2 separate regions of the Homo sapiens genome follow, and region 2 is linked to region 1. The links are contacts of gene promoters, found by promoter capture Hi-C in blood cells and fetal thymus (Javierre and others, 2016). All regions are on one chromosome and are shown on one strand. Each heading gives the region's core, a stretch centred on a gene start or on the middle of the fragment in contact. The rest is flanking DNA. Distances are from core to core; before and after follow the strand shown. Region 1 holds the start of ZNF45 (zinc finger protein 45). Region 2 overlaps ZNF180 (zinc finger protein 180).

Region 1 (4,715 bases), core at 555-3,054:
CAATTAATGATAATTATTAGTTTTTAAGCCTTACTGACTCATCATCTGGGTTTGTTTTAAAATACTCAAGGGAAAAAAAGTTGGTGGGAGAGGCAATAAGATTAGCAAGAATGGAAGCAGGGTGACTGTACATAAGAGTTCATTATATTTGGGTATGTTTGGATATTTCCATAGTAAAAAATAAGGGAATAACAACCCACTATGAATAGTGTGATAACAATTTCATAAAACACAGACAAAAACACATTAAAAACTGCTAAACAGAAATGCATTAAAATGTTAATAATTATCTATATCCTAGTATTAAGGAAATTTGTAATATTTTATATTTCTGTATTTTCTACATCCTGTACAGAGAACGTGCATCTCTATGATCAAAATATGAACTACTAATATTGCTTAAAATTAAATGAGAATTCTTTCAAAATTTTCTAAAGTCTAAACTCAACCTTGCTTTCAAAATCTTCTACAGTAAAATTCCAACCTCCCTCCCCAACTTGATCTCAAATGGCTCCTCTGCAGCCAGTTTCCTATGATTATTTATATGGATCATTTATCTATTTTATTTCCTAATTCTAAATTGGGATTTCAAACTGTGAGACCAAGGGTATTCAGATGTAAGGAACCCAAGTCTAGGACACAAATCCCACTGTTCTTACTAGCACTGTGATATAGGAAAGTAAATTAGGCTCTCTCCATTTCCTCATCTGTATAATTGGTGTAATAACAGTACCCATATCACAATACCCACATCACCTTTGTAAGGTGAACAGAACCCACAACACAAGGCCTTTGTGAAGGTTCAGTGTGTTAGTTTTTATAAAGCCCTCAGAGTGATACTCAGCACCCAATGTTTAACTAGTGTGACTAATATTCATGTCACATTTTCTCCAATTATACAATAACGGAACACTTCTGTAGCAGAAACATTTGCAAGGAATGAAATACCTTCTCGCACTCGGAACAGAAGAGGAAGGTGAATGCTAGGTCCTGTCACAGTGGGGCTCTGCTGCCAGAAGCCAGGATGCTCTCCTTCCTCCTCTCCCGCAGCATTCTTTCAGAAGTCAGGGCAGGGGAAGGAAAGGAGGCTGGGAGATTGCACGATCTTGTCTGAGATCCTGGAAAATCCACAGAGGATAACTCCAGACGCCACCTGTTGAGTGATGCACTCTTTCTTAAAAAACGGGTCAGGCATAGTCCAAGAACAGCCTCCTTTCCTGCAGGAATCAGAAAGAAGAGCCAGGCGCTTGCTGAAAAATGAATATTTTTTATTATGATAGTTTTAATATTAACGGCCGACATGTTGCCACATTCCTGTACTATTCCATACACATTTTACTTGTACTATATTACTAATTGTCAAAACAAATATATAAGGTTAATATTTCCTTTTGCAGAAGAGGAAACTAAGACCAGAAACTAAGCACCGAAAGATTAAGTTCTCACCCAACGTTACACCGCTAGGAAGCTACAGAGCTGTGGGAGGTGGGGGAAGGCGGGTCGGGCCGCTGAGAGCCCAGGAGATCCTCAGACGCCTCCCCATTCAGGTCCACTTCCAACCAGGGGACTCCCGAACCGCCCCGAACGCAGCAGCTCCGGATACAGTAAGGCAATCAGCTGCCCAGCCATTCAACTCCGCCCTCCGCTGCTCGCCGCAGCGTCTTTTCCTGCTGACCGAAGTGCGAGCCCTGCTGATCCTACGACCAAACCATAAAAGTTAAAACAGGTCGCGGGGTCCCAGGACTCACTCACTTCCACGAGAGGAATGAAGGCCGCGCTCTCAACCTCTTGCCGCGGAAGTGCCCGGGAGAGCAGGGAGCTCTGGAACTACATTTCCCAGCATCCCCGGGAGGAACGGAAGCCGCTGCCCCGCCCCCTGGGCGGAAGTGCGGGCTTCGACTCCCACGGCCGAATCTTATTTCTCAGAATCCCCAAGGGGAGCGGGCTTCGTGTTCTCGTCCTCAAATAGTCGAAGTACCACCGAACCCACTGAGCACTGGGGTATAGGTTCCTATTTCCCCAGGGGAGCAAATAACAAAGCCGCGCTTTCCCAGAGCTGAAGTGCCCCCAAAAGTCTGGACCACACGTCCCAGAATCCTCTGTAGGGCTGAGCTTCCCGCCAGCCTGCAATTTTCCTTTTGAATTAGCGGGGGGAGTCTAAGTCATTGCTTGTAGAGCTCAGCCTGCTTTTTCCTTTTGCCATTGTTCCCTTTTATACGTGACAGAAGTTGCGAATATGAAAAAAAAAAAGGAAAATACAAAGGAATGCTATGTGTGAGCTAAAAACAGAGGTAATAAAAGAGGTGGCCAGAGCCGCCCAGAGCAACAAGCCTTTTATAATATGGGTATGGATTCATCTGTGATTAAAAATGCTCAAAAAAGGAGATGCAATCATCCAGCAGGACATGAAACAAAAGCAGCAAAATTCTCCACTTTTCTTGCGCTTAGTTTTCTTTCATTCGCAGGATACTGAAGAAAGTATTATAGTATTGAATAGGCTCTATCCTATATAAAATCTTGAAAACATTCAGTTCAGATTAAGGAATCACATCACTTCTTGCTCTCAGAATCAGGAATCTGTAAAGGTGTCTTATGATTTGCCAAAGTGTCTATGAATATTCAGTAAGGAGAGGGAGGTGAAGTGAGGGATTAAGACATGAAGTGCAAAAAATACAGAAAGCTATACTATTCACTTTTCTCCTAGGTAGAAACTAAATATTTTTCCAAGTTTATTATGAAAGGGTAAAGAAGAAAAAATGGAAGTTGACTACATAGGAGTAGCTGTAAACATCTGAACAATGTTCAATTTAGGCTGAGGCAGGAGACCAGCAGGGCGTGATTCCAAGATCAGATAAGAAACCTGCTGAAACCAGCAAGTGATGGAAAGCAACCTGTAAGTTCCCTTTGCTACCTATCAGTATAAGACACTCCCACCAGCGCCGTGACGGTTTATAAATGCCATGGCAACACCTGGAAGTTACCAACCCCTTTTCTAGAGATTTCCGAGTAACTCACCCCTTAATTTGCATGTAATGAAAAGTTGGTATAAATATACCCAGCCAACAGCCCATATGCTGCTACTCTGGGCACACTGCCTGTGGGCTAGTCTTGGTCTGCAAGGAACAGTCACTGAGCTTTTAACACTGTTGATTCGATAAACCTGCTTTCTTCCGCTGCTGGCTTGCTGTTGAATTCTTTCCTGAGCAAAGCCAAGAAACTGCCCTGCATCAATGCCATTTCAAAATCTGGATAAGTACTCTCTCTACTTTAGTAAGAGGAAGAGAGAAATGTAATCACCCAATGGACTCATCTTGCCCACTGCCCAGAGAGAGCCAATTTATCAAGACAGGAATTGCAATAGAGAAAGAGTTTAATACACGTAGAGCTGGCTAAATGGGAGACCAGGGTGAAGACTGAACTCTGCCGTTTTTTCTTTTCTTACTCAAATTCCTATCTAAGGGTCTGGGGAGTCAAGCCCTCCAAACCATAAAGTCTCATGAGAGGGGTTTTAATTTAACCCTATATAATGTGACTTACTTTCCAACCTGTCATAACACCTCATGACGGATAAGAAAGGAAATCAAAATACTTCAACCCCAAATATGTTTCATTGCCCTATCATGAAATAGCCCTGCAAAGTTGTCCTTTGTGGAGAAAAATCTACATTCTGTAGAGAATCTCCTTTCCTTTTTCCAGGCCATTTTTTCTGATCCAGGAGAGAATCAACTAAGAGTCTGACACTTTTTTTTTTTTTTAAGAGTTTTGCTCTTGTCATCCAGGCTGGAGTGCAATTGTGCAATCTTAGCTCACCACAACCCCCGCGTCCTGGGTTCAAGCGATTCTCCTGCTTCAGCCTCCCAAGTAGCTGGGATTACAGGCATGCACCACAATGCCCGGCTAATTTTGTATTTTTAACAGAGCCAGGGTTTCTCCATGTTGGTCAGGCTGGTCTCGAACTCCCAACCTCAGGTGACCTGCCTGCCTCGGCCTCCCAAAATACTGGGATTACAGCCGTGAGCCACCGTGCCTGGGCTACCTTTTTAAGTCTGATGAGAAAAATCTACGATCTCTTATTTCTGAAGACTGATACCTGGAAGCTTCATCTGCGTAATAAGAACCTTGGTCTCCACAATCTCTTATCCTAACCCAGACATTTCCTTTCTATTGATTCCAGGACTTTAGATAAACTCTTTCAACCAATTGCCAATCAGAAAATCTTTGAATCTGCCTATAACCTGGAAGCCCCACACACTTCACATACCCCTACCCCCCACCCTGCCCTCCACTCCCAACCCCCTCTGCTTCCAGTTGTCACACCTTTCTGGACTAAACCAACGTATGTCTTGCATATATTGCTTGATGTCTTATGTCCCACTGAAATGTCTAAAGCCTAGCTGTGGCCTGACCACCTTGGGCATATGTTCTCAGGGTCTTCTGAGGGCTGTGTCCTGGGCCATGGACGCTTGCATTTGGCTCAGAATAATCTCTTCAAATATTTTACAGAGTTTGAGTCTTTTCATTGACAGAAGTTTTACTGTTACTGAAATCAGCCTCCCTGAAAATTTGGAGGCTGGGGTTTTTAAAAGATAAGTTTGGTGGGCAGGGGGCTAGGGAATGGGTGTGTTTATTGGTTGGGGATGCAATTGGTTGGGGATGCAATCATGGGGTGTGGACCTCTTCTGGGTGGATGTCACATGACTGGTAGAGTCAAGAGT
Region 2 (5,163 bases), core at 1,902-4,401, 550 kb after region 1:
TTGCCCAACCTACCTGAGATGGGATGGTCAGAGACCCAGTGTCTTCTCCCTCGACTTTGATGATAATCTCTTGAGGAAGGAAAGAATCCTGAAAAGGCAAAACAGATGAGAAAAAGGAAAATAATCAGGGAGCTAAGTGGCAGCTCAAATCTCCTCCGGTCAGTGGGCTAAGATTTGACATACCACCTATTTTAACGCATCCCTCCCACCATATTTCTCCTCCCTCCTCCTAGTGGTAAGCTCCGCTAACCATGTGGAGAGAGAGAGGAGATACATGGAGGAGCACCAAGGCCCACAGATACCTGGACATGAGGTCTTTTTGGGTCTTCTGGGCCAGCCCATTGCAGCTAAATGCAGCTGACTGAGTGATCCAAGACACTAAGGAGCACTAAGACGCTAAGAACTGTCCAGCGGGACCTGCCAAAATTCCTGGGTCACAAAATTATAAGCAAATAAAATGGAATACAGCATAACCAATGCCAGAATCATAAAGAAAAAGATCAACAAATTAATTTCATAAGATGTTTAGCAGGCCGGGTGCGGTGGCTTACACCTGTAATCCCAATACTTTGGAAGGCTGAGGCAGGCAGTTCACTTGAGGTCAGGAGTTTGAGACCAGCCTGGCCAACATGGTGAAACCCCGTCTCTACTAAATATACAAAAACTGGCCGGGCATGGTGACACGCACCTGTAGTCCCAGCTACTTGGGAGGCTGAGGCAGGAGAATCACTTGAACACAGGAGGTGGAGGTTGCAGTGATCCAAGATCATGCCACTGTACTCCAGCCTAGGCAACAGAGCAAGACTCCATCTCAAAAAAAAAAAAAAAAAAAAAAAAGTCTAGCAAAAGGTGCCACATGATCAATAAGAATCTATACTATTAAGACTTCTTCCAAATCAGTAAAAGGTAGCCTCAACTGACAAAGAAAAATGCACATGCAACTATGAAGAAACTGCTGTGAATATACAAACAGATGCTCGCCTCTTTACATCAAAATCAAACATCTGTTTCTTTATCTGTATATATTAGAGACCATAAGTTCACATGGATACCTCCAATTACAATTCAATAACACATTTTATTCTGTCTAGCTTTTCTCCTTTCTTTATGTATACTTTCTTTCTCTGGCTCCCATTTTCCTCTTTATATTTACTTATTTGCTCAAGCCCTGTACATAACCAACATCCTGACCACGTCGGGTGTTTTTGTGACAGTCACAGTCATTAGTCTGTTGCTAATGACTCCAGCTCTGGCAGCCCACTGGCCAAGAGCTTCATATATTCTTAGAAGAAGTATAAATTGATACAACCCTCCTGTATTGGCTATATATTAAATATCTGTATTTACAAATACTGCTTTATTTTGAAATCCTTAAAGATTCACAAGAAGTAGCAAAAATAGAGCCACACTCAGCTTTCCCTGGTAATATCATATATAATGACAGTACATTGTCAAAACCAGGAAATTGAAATTTTGGTACAATATTATTAATTCATGTACAGAGTTTATTCCATTTTTATGTACATTCTTTTATTTTTGTTTTTTTAAAGGCAATATTTTTAAAAGTGTAATGTAACATCCATTAAGTCTACTTGTAAGTACTTATCCTTAGGAAATAACATAAAGTACATCAGGATGCATATACAAGAAACCTCATTAGCAAGTTACATTATCATAGCAAGATGGGAAGGGAGACTAAATGTCCACTAGGAAGTGCCTGGTTAAATAAATTATGCTTTATTCAGATGACTGAATATTATTTAGCAGCCAAGAGAAGAAATAAATTTGCATGTACCGATACATATAAATAATAGAAAGATGTCTATAATATATTGCTGAGTGAAAAAATGAAGAACATTATACAGAAGATGAATAGATTTCTATAAAATATAAATATGCACGGAAAAATCTGGAAAGATGTTCTCAAAAGCATTAAAAGGAGTTATTCTTTGAAGGGGTAGAACTGAGGAGCAGGTTCACTGTCTCTCTTTTAATGCTGCATCCATGTTTTTCAAAACCACTTATTTTAATTAAATATTTGGAAACCAGGAAAGGTGCTTCCCTCTTTAAAAATCACCTTGAAACAACGCAATTCCTTTGTAGTGTCCTCAGGTTTTTTCCTACAGGATACAATAATTCAGTCTGTTAAATGATAGCCCATTCAAGGATACTTTGCTCCTCCTCAAATCAAACACTGAAAAGCAACTACTGCTAATTTTTGATAACTCATTTCTTTAGAAGCCATTGGATCAAAAACTAAAAGAAAATAAAAGTGGCCAGGTGCAGCAGTTCATACCTGTAATCACAGTGCTTTGGGAGGCTGAGGTGGAAGGATCACTTGAGCCCAGGAGTTCGAGCCCAGCCTCAGCAACACAGTGAGGCTCCCCTGTCTATACAAAATATATAAAATAGGCCGGGCATGGTGGCTCACACCTGTAATTCTAGCACTTTGGGAGGCCGAGGTGGGCAGATTGCCTGAACTCAGGAGTTCGAGACCAGCCTGGTCAACATGGCGAAACCCCATCTCTACTAAAAATACAAAAAAATACAAATTAGCTAGGTGTGGTATACCTGTAGTCCCAGCTACTTGGGAGGCTAAGGCATGAGAATCACCTGAACCGGAAGTTGGAGTTTGCAGCAAGCTGAGACCATGCCACTTCACTCCAGCCTGGGCAAGAGAGTGAGACTCCATCTCAAAAAATAATAAATAAATAAATAAATAAATAAGCCAGGCACGGTGGTATGTGCCTACAGTCCCAGCTACTTGGGAGGCAAAGATGGGAGGATCACTTGATGTGGAGAGGTCAAGGTATAAGTGTGTCAATTTTTTCTCCTTATCTATCTAGAAAATATTTTACTATTACAGTAGGAATGGTTATTAAAAATGGCTAGCATTAATGTATTTAAAGGTAGGAAAGGATTCTCCAAACCTAAAAACACCACTGTATATTTACTGGGTAGGTTGTGAGGTTCACAATAAGTATCAAAGAGCCAGAGCTGCTGCAATGTAAAGAAGGCCCAATGTGAAAGCCAAGAGGTTGTGTTGCTTGCATTACTACCACACATACTACAACAGTTAAACTGCCTTTTTATTTTTTGTAGAAGACAGGGTCTCGTCATGTTGCCCAGACTGGTCTCAAACTGCTGGTCTCAGCGCCATGACAGTTTTGTCAGGAAGTTACCCTCTATGGTCTAAAAAGGAGAGGAACCCTCAGTTCTGGGAATTGCCCACCCCAGTCCTGGAAAACTCATGAATAATCCACCCCTTGTTTAGCAGAAAATCAAGAAATAACCATAAAAATGGGCAACCAGAAGCCCCTGGGGCTGCTCTGCTTATGGAGTAGCCATTCCTTATTCTTTTACTTTTTTGTTTGTTTGTTTGTTTTGGTTTTGGTTTTGAGACAGAGTCTCGCGCTGTCCCCAGGCTGGAGTGCAGTGGCATGATCTCAACTCACTGCAACCTCCACCTCCGGGGTTCAAGTGACTCTCCTGCCTCAGCCTCCTAAGTAGCTGGGACTACAGGCGCACATCACCACGCCCAGCTAATTTTTGTATTTTTTGTAGAGATGGGGTTTCACCATGTTGGCCAGGATGGTCTTGACCTCTTGACCTTGTGATCTGCCCACACTGGCCTCCCAAAGTGCTGGGATTACAGGCGTGAGCCACCGTGCCCAGACTACTTTTAAAAATAAACTTGACGCCCTCGCCCTCGCCCTTGCCCTCTCCCTCTCCCTCTCCCCACGGTCTCCCTCTCCCTCTCTTTCCACGGTCTCCCTCTCCTTCTCTTTCCACGGTCTCCCTCTCCCTCTCTTTCCACGGTCTCCCTCTCCTTCTCTTTCCACGGTCTCCCTCTCCCTCTCTTTCCACGGTCTCCCTCTCCCTCTCCCTCTCTTTCCACGGTCTCCCTCTCCCTCTCTTTCCACGGTCTCCCTCTCCCTCTCTTTCCACGGTCTCCCTCTGATGCCGAGCCGAAGCTGGACTGTACTGCTGCCATCTCGGCTCACTGCAACCTCCCTGCCTGATTCTCCTGCCTCAGCCTGCCGAGTGCCCGCGATTGCAGGCGTGCGCCGCCACGCCTGACTGGTTTTCGTATTTTTTTGGTGGAGACGGGGTTTCGCTGTGTTGGCCGGGCTGGTCTCCAGCTCCTAACCTGAGTGATCCGCCAGCCTCGGCCTCCCAAGGTGCTGGGATTGCAGACGGAGTCTCGTTCACTCAGTGCTCAATGGTGCCCAGGCTGGAGTGCAGTGGCGTGATCTCGGCTCGCTACAACCTCCACCTCCCAGCTGCCTGCCTTGGCCTCCCAAAGTGCCAAGATTGCAGCCTCTGCCCAGCTGCCACCCCGTCTGGGAAGTGAGGAGCGTCTCTGCCTGGCTGCCCATTGTCTGGGATGTGAGGAGCCCCTCTGCCTGGCTGCCCAGTCTGGAAAGTGAGGAGCGTCTCTGCCCGGCGGCCATCCCATCTAGGAAGTGAGGAGCACCTCTGCCCGGCCGCAACCCCGTCTGGGAGGTGAGGAGCATCTCTGCCCGGTCGCCCCATCTGAGAAGTGAGGAGACCCTCTGCCTGGCAACCGCCCCGTCTGAGAAGTGAGGAGCCCCTCCGCCCGGCAGCCGCCCCGTCTGAGAAGTGAGGAGCCCCTCCGCCCGGCAGCCACCCTGTCTGGGAAGTGAGTAGCGTCTCCGCCCGGCAGCCACCCCGTCCGGGAGGGAGGTGGGGGTCAGCCCCCGCCCGGCCAGCCGCCCCGTCCGGGAGGGAGGTGGGGGGGCCAGCCTCCCGCCCGGCCAGCCGCCCCGTCCGGGAGGGAGGTGGGGGGGCCAGCCCCCCGCCGGGCCAGCCGCCCCGTCTGGGAGGTGAGGGGCGCCTCTGCCCGGCCACCACCCCGTCTGGGAGGTGTACCCAACAGCTCATTGAGAACGGGCCATGATGACAATGGCGGTTTTGTGGAATAGAAAAGGGGGAAAGGTGGGGAAAAGATTGAGAAATCGGATGGTTGCTGTGTCTGTGTAGAAAGAAGTAGACATGGGAGACTTTTCATTTTGTTCTGTACTAAGAAAAATTCTTCTGCCTTGGGATCCTGTTGATCTATGATCTTACCCCCAACCCTGTGCTCTCTGAAACATGTGCTGTGTCCACTCAGGGTTAAATGGATTAAGGGCGGTGCAAGAT

Evidence for each region. Contacts are between HindIII fragments. The CHiCAGO score rates a contact against its expected background, and 5 or more counts as called.
Region 2: a contact is called between a fragment that was not itself captured here and the fragment with the promoter of ZNF45 in region 1, in 7 of 17 cell types (neutrophils, naive CD8 T cells, non-activated CD4 T cells and 4 more). The highest score is 9.0, in neutrophils.

What each region holds. Positions count from the first base shown.
Region 1 is chr19:43,933,478-43,938,192 of GRCh38, forward strand. It overlaps ZNF45 (zinc finger protein 45), which reads right to left and starts at 1,805. Exons shown (of 10, transcript NM_003425.4): 1 at 1,447-1,805; 2 at 949-1,217. ZNF45-AS1 (ZNF45 antisense RNA 1) reads left to right here. Exons shown (of 3, transcript NR_184050.1): 3 at 1-2,337. The HindIII fragment of the contact is 8,828 bases long and covers 1-4,095 here.
Region 2 is chr19:44,484,348-44,489,510 of GRCh38, forward strand. ZNF180 (zinc finger protein 180) reads right to left here. Exons shown (of 5, transcript NM_001278509.3): 3 at 14-88. Among named protein-coding and RNA genes, the nearest start is that of ZNF180, 14 kb to the right of the region's middle. The HindIII fragment of the contact is 7,682 bases long and covers 1-5,163 here.